3 separate regions of the Homo sapiens genome follow, and all the other regions are linked to region 1. Evidence: promoter capture Hi-C in 16 types of primary human blood cells and fetal thymus (Javierre and others, 2016). All regions are on one chromosome and are shown on one strand. Each heading gives the region's core, a stretch centred on a gene start or on the middle of the fragment in contact. The rest is flanking DNA. Distances are from core to core; before and after follow the strand shown. Region 1 holds the start of RPL29 (ribosomal protein L29). Region 2 holds the start of RASSF1-AS1 (RASSF1 antisense RNA 1). Region 3 has its middle 11 kb from the start of CISH.

The links. The method cuts DNA at HindIII sites, captures the fragments that hold promoters and counts their contacts. A CHiCAGO score of 5 or more calls a contact.
Region 2: a fragment that was not itself captured here is called in contact with the fragment with the promoter of RPL29 in region 1 in 2 of 17 cell types (erythroblasts and M0 macrophages); the score reaches 8.1 in erythroblasts.
Region 3: a fragment that was not itself captured here is called in contact with the fragment with the promoter of RPL29 in region 1 in 1 of 17 cell types (endothelial precursors); the score reaches 5.1 in endothelial precursors.

The regions. Positions count from the first base shown.
Region 1 is chr3:51,994,387-51,999,098 of GRCh38, forward strand. It overlaps RPL29 (ribosomal protein L29), which reads right to left and starts at 1,509. Exons shown (of 4, transcript NM_000992.3): 1 at 1,471-1,509; 2 at 1,039-1,083; 3 at 656-720. The coding sequence starts at 1,075. RefSeq lists an enhancer at 1,454-1,613. The HindIII fragment of the contact is 1,082 bases long and covers 489-1,570 here.
Region 2 is chr3:50,334,398-50,339,109 of GRCh38, forward strand. It overlaps RASSF1 (Ras association domain family member 1), which reads right to left. Exons shown (of 6, transcript NM_007182.5): 2 at 3,508-3,614. It overlaps RASSF1-AS1 (RASSF1 antisense RNA 1), which reads left to right and starts at 3,114. Exons shown (of 1, transcript NR_109831.1): 1 at 3,114-3,903. RefSeq lists silencers at 2,518-2,827, 2,898-3,077 and enhancers at 3,149-3,720, 3,548-3,807, 3,888-3,977. The HindIII fragment of the contact is 4,225 bases long and covers 248-4,472 here.
Region 3 is chr3:50,598,305-50,603,016 of GRCh38, forward strand. No RefSeq gene overlaps it. Among named protein-coding and RNA genes, the nearest start is that of CISH, 11 kb to the right of the region's middle. RefSeq lists an enhancer at 743-4,423. The HindIII fragment of the contact is 4,209 bases long and covers 48-4,256 here.

The sequences.
Region 1 (4,712 bases), core at 259-2,758:
GGGGCTTCAACTTCCTACAGCAGGGGTTCGACCAAGTTTTTTCCTGACATCCCCTCAGGGACACCCCCTCCCCTCTTTAGAAGAAGGTGTCAATTAAATACCAAGTCTGGTCCAAAAGACTTATAGCCAAGGTGGGATATGGGGAAACTGAGGCTCAGAGTTTGTGATTCACTCCACGGAACAGAGAGCAAAAGTAAAGGGAAGGAACAGACTGGGGACATGCTCAGCTCTCCCCTAGACCCTCCAGCCTTCTCAGCTAATCCTTAGAACCCCCTGACACAGGAAGAGAAGCTGACCCCAACTCCAGCACTGGGTCAGATGGAGGTCATAAGGCTGGTCAGTGTGGGAATGTGCCCTGCACGCACTCAGACAAGGCCACTCCTTACCCTAAGTGCCACTGCCAAGCAAGGGAGATAGCCAAACTGCCCTCAGGAGGCAGGTTACACCCTGACCAGAGGGTTACACTTCAGGCTGTGGAGACCAAGGAAAGCTTTATTATGGGTCTGGTAGGGTAGAAAAAGGAATTGCAGGCTTTGGGTGGGCCAGTTAGGCTGTGCTCAGGCAGAAGCCAAAGCTAGAGAAAAACTACATGAGAGGCCTTGACTGTGCACCTGGAACCAAGAAAAGACACTTCCATGTGATTCAGTGCACTCACCCCCTTAAGAGATTCGTATCTTTGTGATCGGGGTTTCTTGATACCATTTCTGTGCCATTTTCGGGCTGTGGGAGAAAAAAAGGGAATTAAGCCAACAAAGAACTTTCCTCTAATAAGACCACCCAACATCACAGCTGGCAAGTCTGGGAGAACCAACACTTCCTACAGCAGCTACACTTGAGATATGGGAAACCCTTACTACTAAATGCAAAACACTCTGTATCTCAAGTAGATCTCTAAACCTATAAACCCTAAAGTTATTACTGGGTGAAATCAATCAGCCTCAGGCCCACAATGGAAACGTGCCCCTTCATCTCTGTCCCAGTTTGCCTGAACCAGTCCTTGCCAGGGTCTGGGATGTAGGCAGGGCCCAAAAAACTTACACTGGTTGTGTGTGGTGTGGTTCTTGGACTTGGCCATGTCTGCACCTGGAAGACAAAAGTGGAGATCAGGGTTAAGGGCTCGCCAGGCTGGGCCACCTCTGCCCCCCCCATTCTGGTCAGAATGAGCCTGCAGGCAGAGAATGTGCAGCCTCCACGAGTCTCGGCTTACTCTGCACGACCAAACGCCAGTCCTGGCCTCCCAAACCCAGGTAATGATGCCCTGAAATCAACTCCTTACCCCCGGAAAGCTGCATTCCCCAATAAAGTGGCTTTCCCTGCCATCCCCCTCCTAGGACCTAGAAGCACCATTCCCACCCCGCAGCTTTTGCTCCCGACAGACACACGGTCGGTCACCAGTCCTCTCCGCAGCCCGCGCCCCGCCGCCACCCGTAAGTCGCGGATGGCATCGGATGCCGCGCGGCCAACACTCACCATAAGCCGCGGCTCCCGAAGCGCCTAGAACCGGAAGAGAAAGGGGCTGCGGTGCAGCACGGGAAATAGGGTCAACAACGCCGGAAAGTACTACTGGAAAAGCTTCCCCAGGCTCCGCGAAGAAAAGTTCCGAAGCCCGGAAGAACGCAAGCCAGACGTGGAGGCGGTGCTACGAGCTTGCCTCCGCCCCCTTCAGGCTGCCTCCTCCCTTCTCTGTTTCTCCAGGACCTGTCTCTTAAGTCTTATTCAAGATACTGAAAAAGAAAGGAGTCCTTGAGGGATGTTGTTGGGCAAGAAGATCTGTGTTCTTTTTCTTTTTTTTTTTTTTTGAGACGGAGTTTCGCTCTTCCACCGAGGCTGGAGGGCAGTGGCACAATCTCGGCCCACTGCAACCTCCGCCTTCCGGTTTCAAGCGATTCTCTTGCCTCAGCCTCCCGAGTAGCTGGGATTACAGGCGCCCACCACCACGCCCGGCTAATTTTTACATTTTTAGTAGAGACGGGGTTTCACCATGTTGGCCAGGCTGGTCTCGAACTCCTGACCTCGCGATCCGCTCGCCTCTGTCCCCCAAAGTGCTGGGATTACAGGCGTGAGCCACCGCACCTGGCCGATCTGTGTTCTTAAAAGCACCCCTGTAATCCCAGCACTTTGGGAGGCTGAGGTGGGCGGATCACGAGGTCAGGAGTTCCAGACCAGCCTGGACAACATGGTGAAACCCCATCTCTACTAAAAATCCAAAAAAAAAAAAAAAAAAAAAAAAAAAATTCACGGGGCGTGGTGGCACGTGCCTGTAATCCCAGCTACTCTGGAGGCTGAGGCAGGAGAATTGCTTGAATCTGGGAGGTGGAGGTTGCAGTGAGCCAAGATCGCACCATTGCACTCCAGCCTGGGCTACAGGGCGAGACTCTGTCTCAAAAAAAAAAAAGAAAAGCACGCCTGACTCTTTCGTGGAGAAGGAGCAGAGGGGAGGAAGGAGAGAGGGCTGCCTGGACCTGAGGGAGGACAGTGGGAATGCAGAGGAGTGGACAAAGAAAGAGTACTGGACTTGGGACACAGAAGATGAGGGAGAAAAAGGAGGCAAGGATAGCCCCTATGTCTTTGGCTTGACAACTGGGTGAATGGTGGGCTGTTTACAGAGATGGAAGATTGAGTGGGGAGCAGGGGCTTTGTTTGTTTTGTTTTGAGGGGGAATGATGAGCCAGATATTTTTGTTGGATGCATTAAATGTGAGATGCCTGTTGGACATCAGAATTGAGAAATTGTTGCCTCTAACAACTCTGTTGCCTTCTCCACCTCTTCCCCCTATAGTTCATTTTCCACACGGCAGTGGGGCTTGGGGACTTGTTTTAAGATACAAATCAGATCCTGTCCCTTAAATCTGCAAGGACATCCCCTTGCATTGAAGATCAATTCTTTACCCACTTGACCCTGACAACCTCTGTCATTTACTTCTCTCCAAACGCATTGCCTTTCTTTCCTGCCAACCACAAATGTGTGTTCTGCCTCAGGACCTTTGCACTTGCTATCCCAGCCACCTGGACTGCCCTTCTCCCTGCTTTTTGGATGGTGTGCTCTTTCCTATAGAGGCCTCCCTGGACTCCATTATCTAAAATAGAGAACCACTGCCTCATCTCACCAGTGATTCTGTGTCCTCTCATGGTTTCCTTTCTTTTCTATTCTTTTTTTTTTTTTCTTTTTTTTAGACAGTCTCACTCTGTCTCCCAGGCTGGAGTGCAGTGGTGCGATCTCAGCTCACTGCAACCTCTGCCTCCCGGGTTCAAGCGATTCTCCTGCCTCAGCCTCCTGAGTAGCTGGGATTACGGGCGCACACCACCACTCCCAGCTAATTTTTAAAGAATTATTTTTAGTAGAGACGGGTTTTCACCATGTTGGCCAGGCTGGTGTTGAACTCCTGACCTCAGGTGGTCTGCCCGCCTCGGCCTCCCAAAGTGCTGGGATTACAGGCGTAAGCCACCGTGCCCGGCCATGGTTTGCTTTCTTTATAGAACTTTCCCAGACTCTAATTGCATTGTTTACTTAGTTGTGTATGTGTCCATTATCATAGGAGCCCAGAGTTTGGGACTGGTTTGATCACCTTCATTTTCCCACTGCCTAACTCAGCATAATGTAGATAGAGCAAGAGCTTAATAAACACATGCCCAGTGAACGTTCCTTGACAAGCCAGGTTCGTGGAGTGACAGACGCATACTGCAGAGGTTTAGGGAGTGAAGCGGAAAGGAGGTTGTGGAGGCAGGACATGTGGATGACTCATTACCAAAGCATTCCTGAGAAAGGGGAGAGAATTCTGACAGGTGTGAGTTGGGAGAATGAAAAGCAGGCTTATATACTGATGGATGATCTGGTGCCAAGAAAGAAACAGCTGAGCCCAGAGGAGAGTGTCTCTGCAGGAATAAAGTCCCTGTGGGGTGCTGAGCACAGGTAGAGAACCTGGTGGGCAAAGACAGGGGCTACAGGAGGTGGGGGTGGTGTGATGCCTGACAGCAAGTCAGGACTTCAGCTCAGGAAGTTGAAGAGGTGGCTGTGGAGACTGGGACAGGGAGGAGGAGGTCTGACTGCCACATCCTTGAGAAAGAGAAGCCAGCAGGGTAGAGGCTGACAGCGGGGGCAGTGATGACTTTATTTATTTACTTTTATTTATTTTATTTATTTATTTATTTATTTTGAGACAGAGTTTTGCTCTCATTGCCCAGGCTGGAGTGCAATGGCGCGATGTTGGCTCACTGCAACCTCCACCTCCTGGGTTCAAACGATTCTATTGCCTCAGCCTCCCGAGTAGCTGGGATTACAGGCACCTGCCACCATGCCCAGCTAATTTTTGTGTTTTTAGTAGAGACGGGGTTCTACCATGTTGGCAATGCTGGTCTCGAACTCCTGACCTCAGGTGATCCACACTCCTTGGCCTCCCAAAGTGCTGGGATTACAGGCGTGAGCCTGTAATCCATGTCCAGCCTGTGATGACTTTAAAAGAACCAGGCTGCCCTGCTATGTGGCCTTCCAGCTGGGTAGCGACTCCCGCAGCTCCTAAAAAGTGAGTAGTGACTTGGTTTAGCTAGACTGTTACGACAGAGGCAGAAAAAGCAGTGAGCAGAAAGCCACGGTCTGACGGGGGAGGCAGATTCAGAGATGGACGATGGTCATGCAGTACCACTGGGGCTGTGTTAGGGATTGGCCCAGAGTTAAATCCCAGCTGTTAGGCAAGGGGGAGTCAGTGACAAGAATGA
Region 2 (4,712 bases), core at 1,110-3,609, 1.7 Mb before region 1:
AAACAAATGGTGTGGGCCCTGGAAAATGAGGGCTGGAGGCTGTGAATAAAGCAGTGGATGTGTTTGTTCAGTACACCAACGGGAAGAAGTACCCAGATGGGAGGAGTACTAGGGGCAGGAGAAATGCCAGACAGACTCTAGTGCCAGGGCAAGAAGGAAGATCATTTTGTTTGCAGAACAGGGAGGGCACAGGGATGGTGCTAACTTGTTCTTGTGATGGCTCTGAGCTCCTACCTAACAATGAGAAAGCTTGCTCCTTCTTCCCTTCCTGGATGACCCAGGAGCCCTGGGCTGGGATGCAGTGACCTCATTTCCAGCCCCTTCCCTTCTGGTGATGAACCTCCCTATCTTCACTCAGAAAACAGACTTGGATTAGAGGCACTGCACAGCCCTTCCAGGATTCTAAAGGAGGAAGAGTTTCTTTTTCTGTTTCCAAAGCTGCCTGCTGGAAGAGGATTTCAACAGCCATCCCAGTCGGATGCACAGCAGGACCATGGAATTTCCCTTCTGCACCATAGGGACCCACCCTCCACTCTACCACTGTCCATAAAAACTGATGGTTTTTTTTTTGAGACAGAGTCTCGCTCTGTTTTCCAGGCTGGAGTGCAGTGGTGCGATCTTGGCTCATTGCAATCTCTGCCTCCTGGGTTCAAGCAATTCTCTGCTTCAGCCTCCCAAGTAGCTGGGATTACAGGTGCCTGCCACCACAACTGGCTAATTTTTTGTATTTTTAGTCGAGACGGGGTTTCACCATTTTGGCCAGGCTGGTCTTGAACTCCTGACCTCATGATCCACCCACCTCGGCTTTCCAAAGTGCTGGGATTAAAGGTGTGAGCCACTGCACCTGGCCTAAAACTGATGTTTTTTTCTTTTTTTTTAACATATAACTTGGGACTTCTCAGCCTCCTATTCTTTCTTTTTTTTTTTTTTTTTTTTTGAGACAGAGTCTTGCTCTCTCATCCAGGCTGGAATGCAGTGGCCCAGTCTCGACTCACTGCAACCTCTGTCTTCTGGGTTCAAGTGATACTCCTGCCTCAGCCTCCCCAGTAGCTGGGATTACAGGCACACACCACCATGGCCAGATAATTTTTTTGTATTTTCAGTACAGACGGGGTTTTGCTATGTTGGCCTGGCAGGTCTCGAACTCTTGGCCTCAAGTGATCTGCCTGCCTTGGCCTCCCAAAATGCTGAGATTACAGGCATGAGTCACCAAGCCCAGCCTTCTTTCTTTTTTTTGAGACAGAGCCTCACCCTGTCACCCAGGTTGGAGTGCAGTGGCACGATCTTGGCTCACTGCAACCTTTGCCTCCCGGTTGAAGTGATTCAGTCTCCCAAGTAGCTGGGACTACAGTCACACACCACCATGCCCGGCTAATTTTTGTATGTTTAGTAGAGATAGGGTTTCACCATGTTGGCCAGGCTGACCTCGAATTCCTGATTGCAAATGATCCACCTGCCTTGGCCTCCCAAAGCATTGGCATTAGAGGTGTGAGCCACCGTACTTGGCTTCCTTTTCTATTTTTGAGACAGAGTCTCACTCTGTCACTCAGGCTGGAGTGCAGTGGCACGATCTTGGCTCACTGCAACCTCTGCCTCCCAGGTTCAAGTGATCCTTCTGCCTCACCCTCCCAAGTAGCTGGGATTACAGGTGTGCACCTCCGTGGCTAGCCCTCCTTTTCAATTGGTTAGTGTCTTGTGGTTTTCCCACCTTTCCACAGTGGAAAATGGCTCAGGACTGACTGACATGAAGACAAGCCCAGGGGTCTACACTCAACTCAACCCTTGCACCCAAGCTCTGGGCTAAGATTTTGGCGTGCTGAGCACCACCCATTTTGTAAGGAATTTTGTAAAATTTTATCTGAAGCATCACTCACAACTCCACTTTCTTTACTTAAATAAGGATTTCCGCCCCATTTCTGCCAGGCATACTGAGCTTCACAGTCCCTGTTTCTTTTTCCTGGTGCCTAGGCCTGGTTCTCTGAGCCTGGTGGTCACACCAATGGCATCTGGCACACAGTTCTCCGATAATGGGGATACCTAGGAGGTTCCGAGACACCTTACAGTCCTGGGTTAGTAACCTGGATCTCTTTTTCCACCTCTTTAGGCATTTTATAATCTAGCTTTCCCCCTTCCTGTGGGTAAAGTGCTCCTGAATGCTTATGGTCCAAAACAAGACTTCTTTCCTATCTATTCCCAAATCTTTCTCCAGATCCACCCTAGAGGAAGGGAACAGAATCTTCCACATTCCAGCAGCTGGTGACAGGCCAGAACAGGGAAGAGGTGAGGGCTCAGCTGGCTCCATACAGGAGTGCAGATGGAGGAGCAGGATCTCTCTCTGCCTCTCAAGTTTTCCTAAACATACTTCTCAATTCCTGGCGAGGACTCTTCCCTCTCCACATCCTCCCCTAGTCTCCCCAAGGAGGGAGCAGGAGCATTCGAACGCGGAAATCGAGGTGCTAGTCCAAACTGCTCGGTCGGCTTTAGTCATAGCTGGATAATGCCCGGCTCAGGTCTACCACAAGCCATACAGCTGCTTTTTCCGTGTTCAACCTGTCTGTGACAGAAACCAAGGGGGCCCCGGCACCCAGCATCTAGGCGGTGGAATCGGGGTCTTACGCACGGTTCCGCGGGCAGGTCCCCGGCCAGGACCCGCGGGGAGCCACGTAGCCAGGAGGGTGGGGCTGCCCACCGACCCAGGACGCGGCAACGGACCGGGGAGGGCGGAGCTCCAGCGACCGCTTCCCCTCCCGCCCGCCGGCACCCCCTGGCTCCCACCTGGTCCCGGCGCGGCCTGCGAGCTAGCGAGGTTCGCGCGGTGAAGTACTGCTCGAGCTCCGAGTCCGAGTCCTCTTGGCTGCAGTAGCCACTGCTCGTCGTGCTGCTCCAGGTCATTTCGAAAGAAGGCGCCTCCGCCTCGCCCATAGCCGTACCCGCCCGTCCCCCAGTCCTGCGCGTCCGTAGCCGCCAACCACCGCCCCGGTCGCGTGCGTGCGTGTACGCGTGTCAGTGTGCGCGTGCGCCCGGGCCAGAGCCGCGCCGCAACCGTTAAGACTGAAACGTAGATCGCCGGGATCTAGCTCTTGTCTCATTGGGGCAGGAACGCCGGGGCGGGGACACGCACGCTTCGCCCCCAGGAATGACCTCATCGCTCCGGAGCTCCACTCACAGACCCCACCTACCACAGGGAACGGGGGCGGGTGCCAGCGTCCGGGCAAGCGCACAAGAGTGGCCTCTGGCCGGAGGCGAGGGCGGGAAGGTGCGGGAAGTGCGCGTGCGCGGAGCCTGGGTCAGCCTGGGCCCGGGTCCGCTTGCAGCGGGTGGAGTACTTGCGGAGCCGGCAATCCAGGCTCCCCTCCCAGCCCCCGCGCAGAATTAGCCTCTCTGTGCCGCCGGGAAATCGGCAATTAGAACGCTCCTTGCGCGCGGCACCCAGGCAGCCCTCGAGAATGCCTGCACTGTGGCCTGCCCATCCTCGCCCTTCCCATACGCCCTCGGCCCCGCGCTCACCACGTTCGTGTCCCGCTCCACCGCGGGTTCCCAGCCCAGGTCCCGGGGCCCGCAACAGTCCAGGCAGACGAGCGCGCGGCAGCGGTAGTGGCAGGTGAACTTGCAATCTGCAGAGAGGCCTGGCGGTGAGGCGGAGGAGCTCCAGGTCGGGGAAATGTCCCGGAGATTGAAGGGAAGCCCCAGGGAGAGGGCCGCTGCTCGCCAGGCTCCGCAGGCCCGACCTATCTCAGTGGGTTACCTCACACTGCTACGCGGACTCTAATGTTGGCCACCTGGGCGTCTGGAAACCGGCCGGAAGGCCACAGGCAGAGAGGCCTGCTCAACAGTTGGATCTCTATCGCCTAGCACAGAACTTCCCCTTTCCTCATTGGCAATTAAAAAAACAACAACAAAAAACTGCGTCTTGCTTTTGTCACCCAGGCTGGAGTGCAATGGCGCGATTTCGGCTCACCGCAACCTCCGCCTCCTGGGTTCAAGCGATTCTTCTGCCTCAGCCTCCTGAGTACCTAGGATTACAGGCGCCCGCCACCATGCCCAGCTAATTTTTGTATTTTTAGTAGAGACGGGGTTTCACCATGTTAGCCAGGCTGGTCTCAAACTCCTGATCTCAGGTGATCCACCCGCCTCGGCCTTCCAAAGTGCTGGGACTACAGGCTTGAGCCACCGCACCCGGCCCTTCACTGGGAACGTATATGGAATACATCTGCCCATTTACTTGAAGGAAAAACTAAACACCTTTAACCTACGTCTGCCCTGTGGTTGTCACCTGTCTCTACTCCCCTCAGACCAAGACACTGGTCTCTATACACTCTAATCCTTCGCCTTCACTCTCCCCTCTACCCACTCCAGCCAGGCTTGCCTCTTCCTCCAGGAAACTGCCCGGGACAGGGTCCTCAGCGATCTGTGTACTACCAAATGGAATCCAGTGTTCCATTCTCCATTCTCACCCCCTCAGCATCATTTGAAGCTTGCTCCCTTTGACTCCCAGGGGCTACACTCTCCCAGTTTTCCTCCTACCCCCTGCAGCTCCTGCTCAGCTCCTTTGCAGATTCTGACTCAACTTCCATATCTCACGATGAAGTCTGGGCTCAGTCCTGATCACTGGCCTGGTCTGTCTACATTCATCTGCCCCAGATCCACGGCTGAAACACTGACCTAAACCCTCAGACTAGATCCTCCGTGCCAGTACCTTCACTAGGATGTCT
Region 3 (4,712 bases), core at 902-3,401, 1.4 Mb before region 1:
CAGATATATAAAAACTGTAGATTTACAGATGTTTTTACTCCTATGAAAGCTTATTTGTTCAGTAGGAGGATAGAACACATTTCATTAGCAGCTTGATTTATGGTTGTTTAATATTTAGATTCTGGTATGTGAGCCTCCACTTGTCCTTTTGCCTGGAGCACTGCAAACATCAAGGCCTATGCTCCAGTGTGCCCACAGGTACTTCTTGCTGCAATAGAGACCAGAGAAAGAGCTCTTCTGGGGCTCATGTCTCCATGGGCTCATGGTGAAGTGGGAGCTGGAGGGGTGAGTTGGGATCCAGGGGAAGACTCCGAGGAGAAACAAAAATCACCAAGTCTACACATTTCCTCCTTACAACGATTCCATAAGGCAAGTGATAACATTGTCCCCAAAGTAGAGGTGGAGGCCCGGTGCAGTGGCTCACGCCTGTAATCCCAGTGCTTTGGGAGGCCGAGGGAGGAGAATTGCTTGAGCCCAGGAGTTCAGACCAGCCTGGGCAACATGGTGAAACTAGATCTGTACAAAAAATTAGTGGGGTGTGGTGGCACACACCTGTAGTCTCAGCTACTTGGGAGACTGAGGTGGGAGGATCGCTTGAGCTCAGGAGGTAGAGGCTGCAGTGAGCCGAGATTGTGCCACTGGACTCCAGCCTGGGCAACAGGGTGAGACCCTGTCTCAAAACCAAACCAAACCAAACACCAAAAACAGAGTGGGAAACTGAGGCTCAGAGTGGGTTCATGACTTGCTCAAGTCACGATGCAGGATACCTAGCTCTAGAACCACCTGCAGCAGGGCACCGGTGTCCCCTGCAAACCCATAGCTCTTTTCACTCAGGTCACGTGGGTCCCAGGTCAACTTCATCCACAGCAGGTTCTTTCCAGCCACAGCCAGCCTGACCTGGGTGCAGGCATCAAGGCCTCTAAGTGACAGAGAATGCAGCACTCCCACCCACTGCCAGCTGCCCCAGGTAGCTTCTGAGAACTGGCCACTGCAGAGTACAAGCACAGCAATGACCTGTGTCCTTGGGCTGCCCCACTGCCCTCCTACAGGGGAGGGAGGACCTCTCTGCCATAGCCCCACCTCACAGCTGCCACCCACCCACTGGGTCCTAGCCCTTCTTAACGCCAGCATTGTCCCCATCTTCTCTGTGACATTGGGGTGGATGGGTAGCACGCTTGGCGCTGTGCTCAGTGAGGGCCAAGGAGTGACCTGAGGGTGGGAGGAGAGAGGCAAGTTCTTGCCGACACCCCGTCCAGCCTTGGCCAGGGGAGGTTCTCCATTCTGAAGGTAAAGGGGTCATGAGTGGTTAAAAGGTTGTCCTAGTGCCTCCCAGCTATGTGACCCTGACCTGCTCACTCAGCACCCTCAGCCATACTTCCAGGCCCCTGCTCTAACAATGCTGCTCCTGGGATCCTGTGATGGGAACACTCATGGCCATTCCCTTGAAATGTGGCCAGACTTCAACCCAGTCCCAGACAGTTGTCAGTGCCCACTCACTGCAGCCTCTCCTCTGCATTCTCCAGGCTATTTTCCAAAAGGCCAGATGCATGTCCTGGGTGGCTTGATGCTGAAGCTGGGGCCTGGGCCCCCTGCTGTGGGACAGGGAAGTGTGGGTGAGACAAGGCTGTCCTGAAGGAGTGACTAGAGCCAGAGGCTGCCCACCAGCAAAGGGGGCTCAGTGAGCAGGGCCTGGCACTGCTGACCCCACCTTGTTTTCCCTCCTACTCTCCCTTGGTGCTTCACACCCCCGGCTGCTCACTGGCCTAGGCAGGACACTCCTGTCTAACCTCCTGCTTTCACTGTGGACCCACACCCACACGCTGCCTCCATAGGTACACATGCCCTTTTTTTCTCTACTAACACCTGTTTCTCGTCGTCCACTCTGCCAGGCTGGACACCGGGCACTTCAGAGGTCATGCCAGATCCAGCACCGGGATGGAGGAGTCTAAGGAGGCACCTGCAGTCAGGGAGGGCTTCCTGGAGGCAGAGACCGAAGCTAAGGGCTCAGTACCCTCTCCCCCCACTTACCCCAGGTCACTGGCTGTCCTCTGAGCCTCACTCCCTGGAAGGGCCAGCAGGTTCCAGGAAGTGTCCCCTCGCCCTGCAGTGCTGGTTCCAAGAACTGCAGCTCTTGGCAGCATTTGCTTAGGATCCTTTCCTAGAACTTGAGACCTGCTCTGCCCAGACTGCTGGGGTCTCAGAGGGCAGCCAGTGGGGGTAGTGGGGGAAGGGGGTGCACTGGGAGGTGCCTCTGCAGGTAGAACATTCCATGGACCAAACATTGGGAGGTGGGCCTAGGCTGTCAGCCGGGAGTGGTTGGCCACACTAGGGTGGTCAACACCTCCAACAGGAGGTCGGTGAAATGCAGGTGCTTTGACTGCAGTCAACCATGGGGTGCGGGCCCATGAGTTCTCCCTGCACAAGAAGGAGGCTCATTCCCTTGGTCCAGAACTTCCACCAGCTTGCCACATGCCACCCTCCACCCCCCGACTCTACTCCCCCCACTAGCCTGGCACCAGGGTCCCATCCCATAGAGAATCAGCACAGGCCTTACCCTCAGAATAGGCCCTCATCAGATAACCTCCAGAGGACAGGCCAGGGTGCAGGACAGGCAGGTTCTGAGCAGGGAAGGGGGATGGGATCGTCTTGGGGCCCTTGGAAGGCCATGACACTTGTGTTATTAATCCTGTTATAATTTTACCTTTCCTGGTTAGAACTGAATAAATTACCCCACCTCACACCCCCCAGCAAAGTTGGGTCGGGTGAATGAGGGACAGGCCCTGGTAAGTGGTCAAGGACAGGGCCCTACTTCCCTCAAGGTCACCAGGCCTCCCCCTGGGGCGTGTCCTCCACCCGCCACTTCTGAGCTGGCACCAGGCCTGCCCAGCCGCCTGGGACCTGCCAGATCACGTTGAGCAACCAGTTCCTGAGAAGCGTTGAAGGCAGTGTGGTTTAAAATTAACTCCCCCGCTCCCCCTCCCGCCTGCGGCCTCCTCTGAGTTCTTGGAAGCGGCGCTCTGCTCTTCCTGGGAAGAGGCCTCCAGCCCCAGCTGCTGCAATTCTGGCGAAAACACCTCACCCAGGCTGGGGGTGGGGGGTGCCCACGCCAGGCCTTCTCTGCCCTACACAAGGCCCAGGGATCCTCTGGAAGCTAGCACCCACCCTAGTTACTCACTGAGACCCAGAAGAGAAAGGGGGTGATTGTCAAGGTGCTGGGAGGAGGTGCTCCTGCCCCCAAAGCCCACAGCTCCCAACCAGGCACCTCTGGGTAGGAGAGAAAGTGAATTGATCCCACAACAGCAAACCCAGGACCCTGGCCTACTTTGAGCCATATATGTCCTGGCGAGATGCAGCAACTTCCTAGGGCCACCCAGCTTTGCCTGCCCTTATAAGCTCAGCTTGCCCACTAGGTGCCAGGCTGATGGTGCTGATCTGGCAAGGATGCCCGGGAGCACGCCCCCGCAGGCATGCACACACCTGGGTTAACAGTGATCTCTGCCAGGATCTCTCCTTTTCTCTCACCCACACCCCTCAAACTGCCCTTGGAACACCTCTCCTCCTGGTTAAGCCTCATTTTCTCATGTCTCGTGGGCTCCGTGTCCCTGGGGCTTTGGGGGAAATGTTTCCTGAGAACCTACTCTCCCAGCAGCTCCTCCTCCCACAGCCATCCACTGGAAGGAGCTGAGAAAAACAAAGGAATGTTGGCCAAGTGGAAAGGTCAGCACAAGCATGCGTGCGCGCGTGCGCGCGCACACACACACACACACACACACACACACACACACACACACACACACACACACACACACAAGTGATGTCACTGATGTGGGGCTGGTGGGGGTGGGAGCAGTGAAGTGCTTCCTGGGAGGAGGCTGAGGGCTGAGAGGCACTTTGAAGAACAGAGCTTTGGCCCAGTCTGGACTATGAGTGCAATCCCCACCTCTGGTGGAGGAGCCCAGCTCTGGTGACAGGAAGGGCCCCATCTGGCTCATGGGTGCTGGGTGTGGGGAGAGTCCCTGGAGCAGGACTCTGCCTGAGGAGCATTTGCTGGATACCACCCTCCCCACCAGGCATGTCATCAGGGCATCATCGGTGCCAGCGCAAGCATCTCACTAGTAGGGTCTGTGTGGGTGAGACAGTCCTGGAGGGCTGCCTGGAGGAGTCATGGCAATCCTAGGTTCCCATAGCCCTCAGAGGCCCTGCCTGTTTTAATGAGGCCCGGGCCATGGAAGCAACTCTCTTTCCACTGAGCAGGAAGCTTTGACCACATCAGAAAAGCTCCCCTTCCCTGGGCCTGCTGTGTCTCCTCCTGCTCAGAGATGAGCATCGGTTTCCATTCACTCCCCATTCCCCAGCATCCAGGCCCAGCCACTCTCCAACCACTCTGAGGTCTGCATTCTGACCAAAATCAAACCTCCAGGGACCTCCTCTAGCTTGAGTCTCAGACGTGGGAACTCCAGCCTGCTGCCCCAGAGTGACTCTTGGAGTGACCCCTTGGGTGGTCCACGGGAGCCAGGGAGGGATAGGGAGGACACATCCACCATGAGAGGCTGTTGAATTTCCGGCAAAGCTCAAGTCTACTTTATCTTAAAACTGGTCTAGCAGGTTGGTGTCAAAGGCTGCCCAGGCTTGCACAGGGCCTACTTCTCCTGGAGGAAGAGGGCCTTTATGAGAGCTGGAGAAGTCTGGGATGTCCTATGCACAGACCCTGA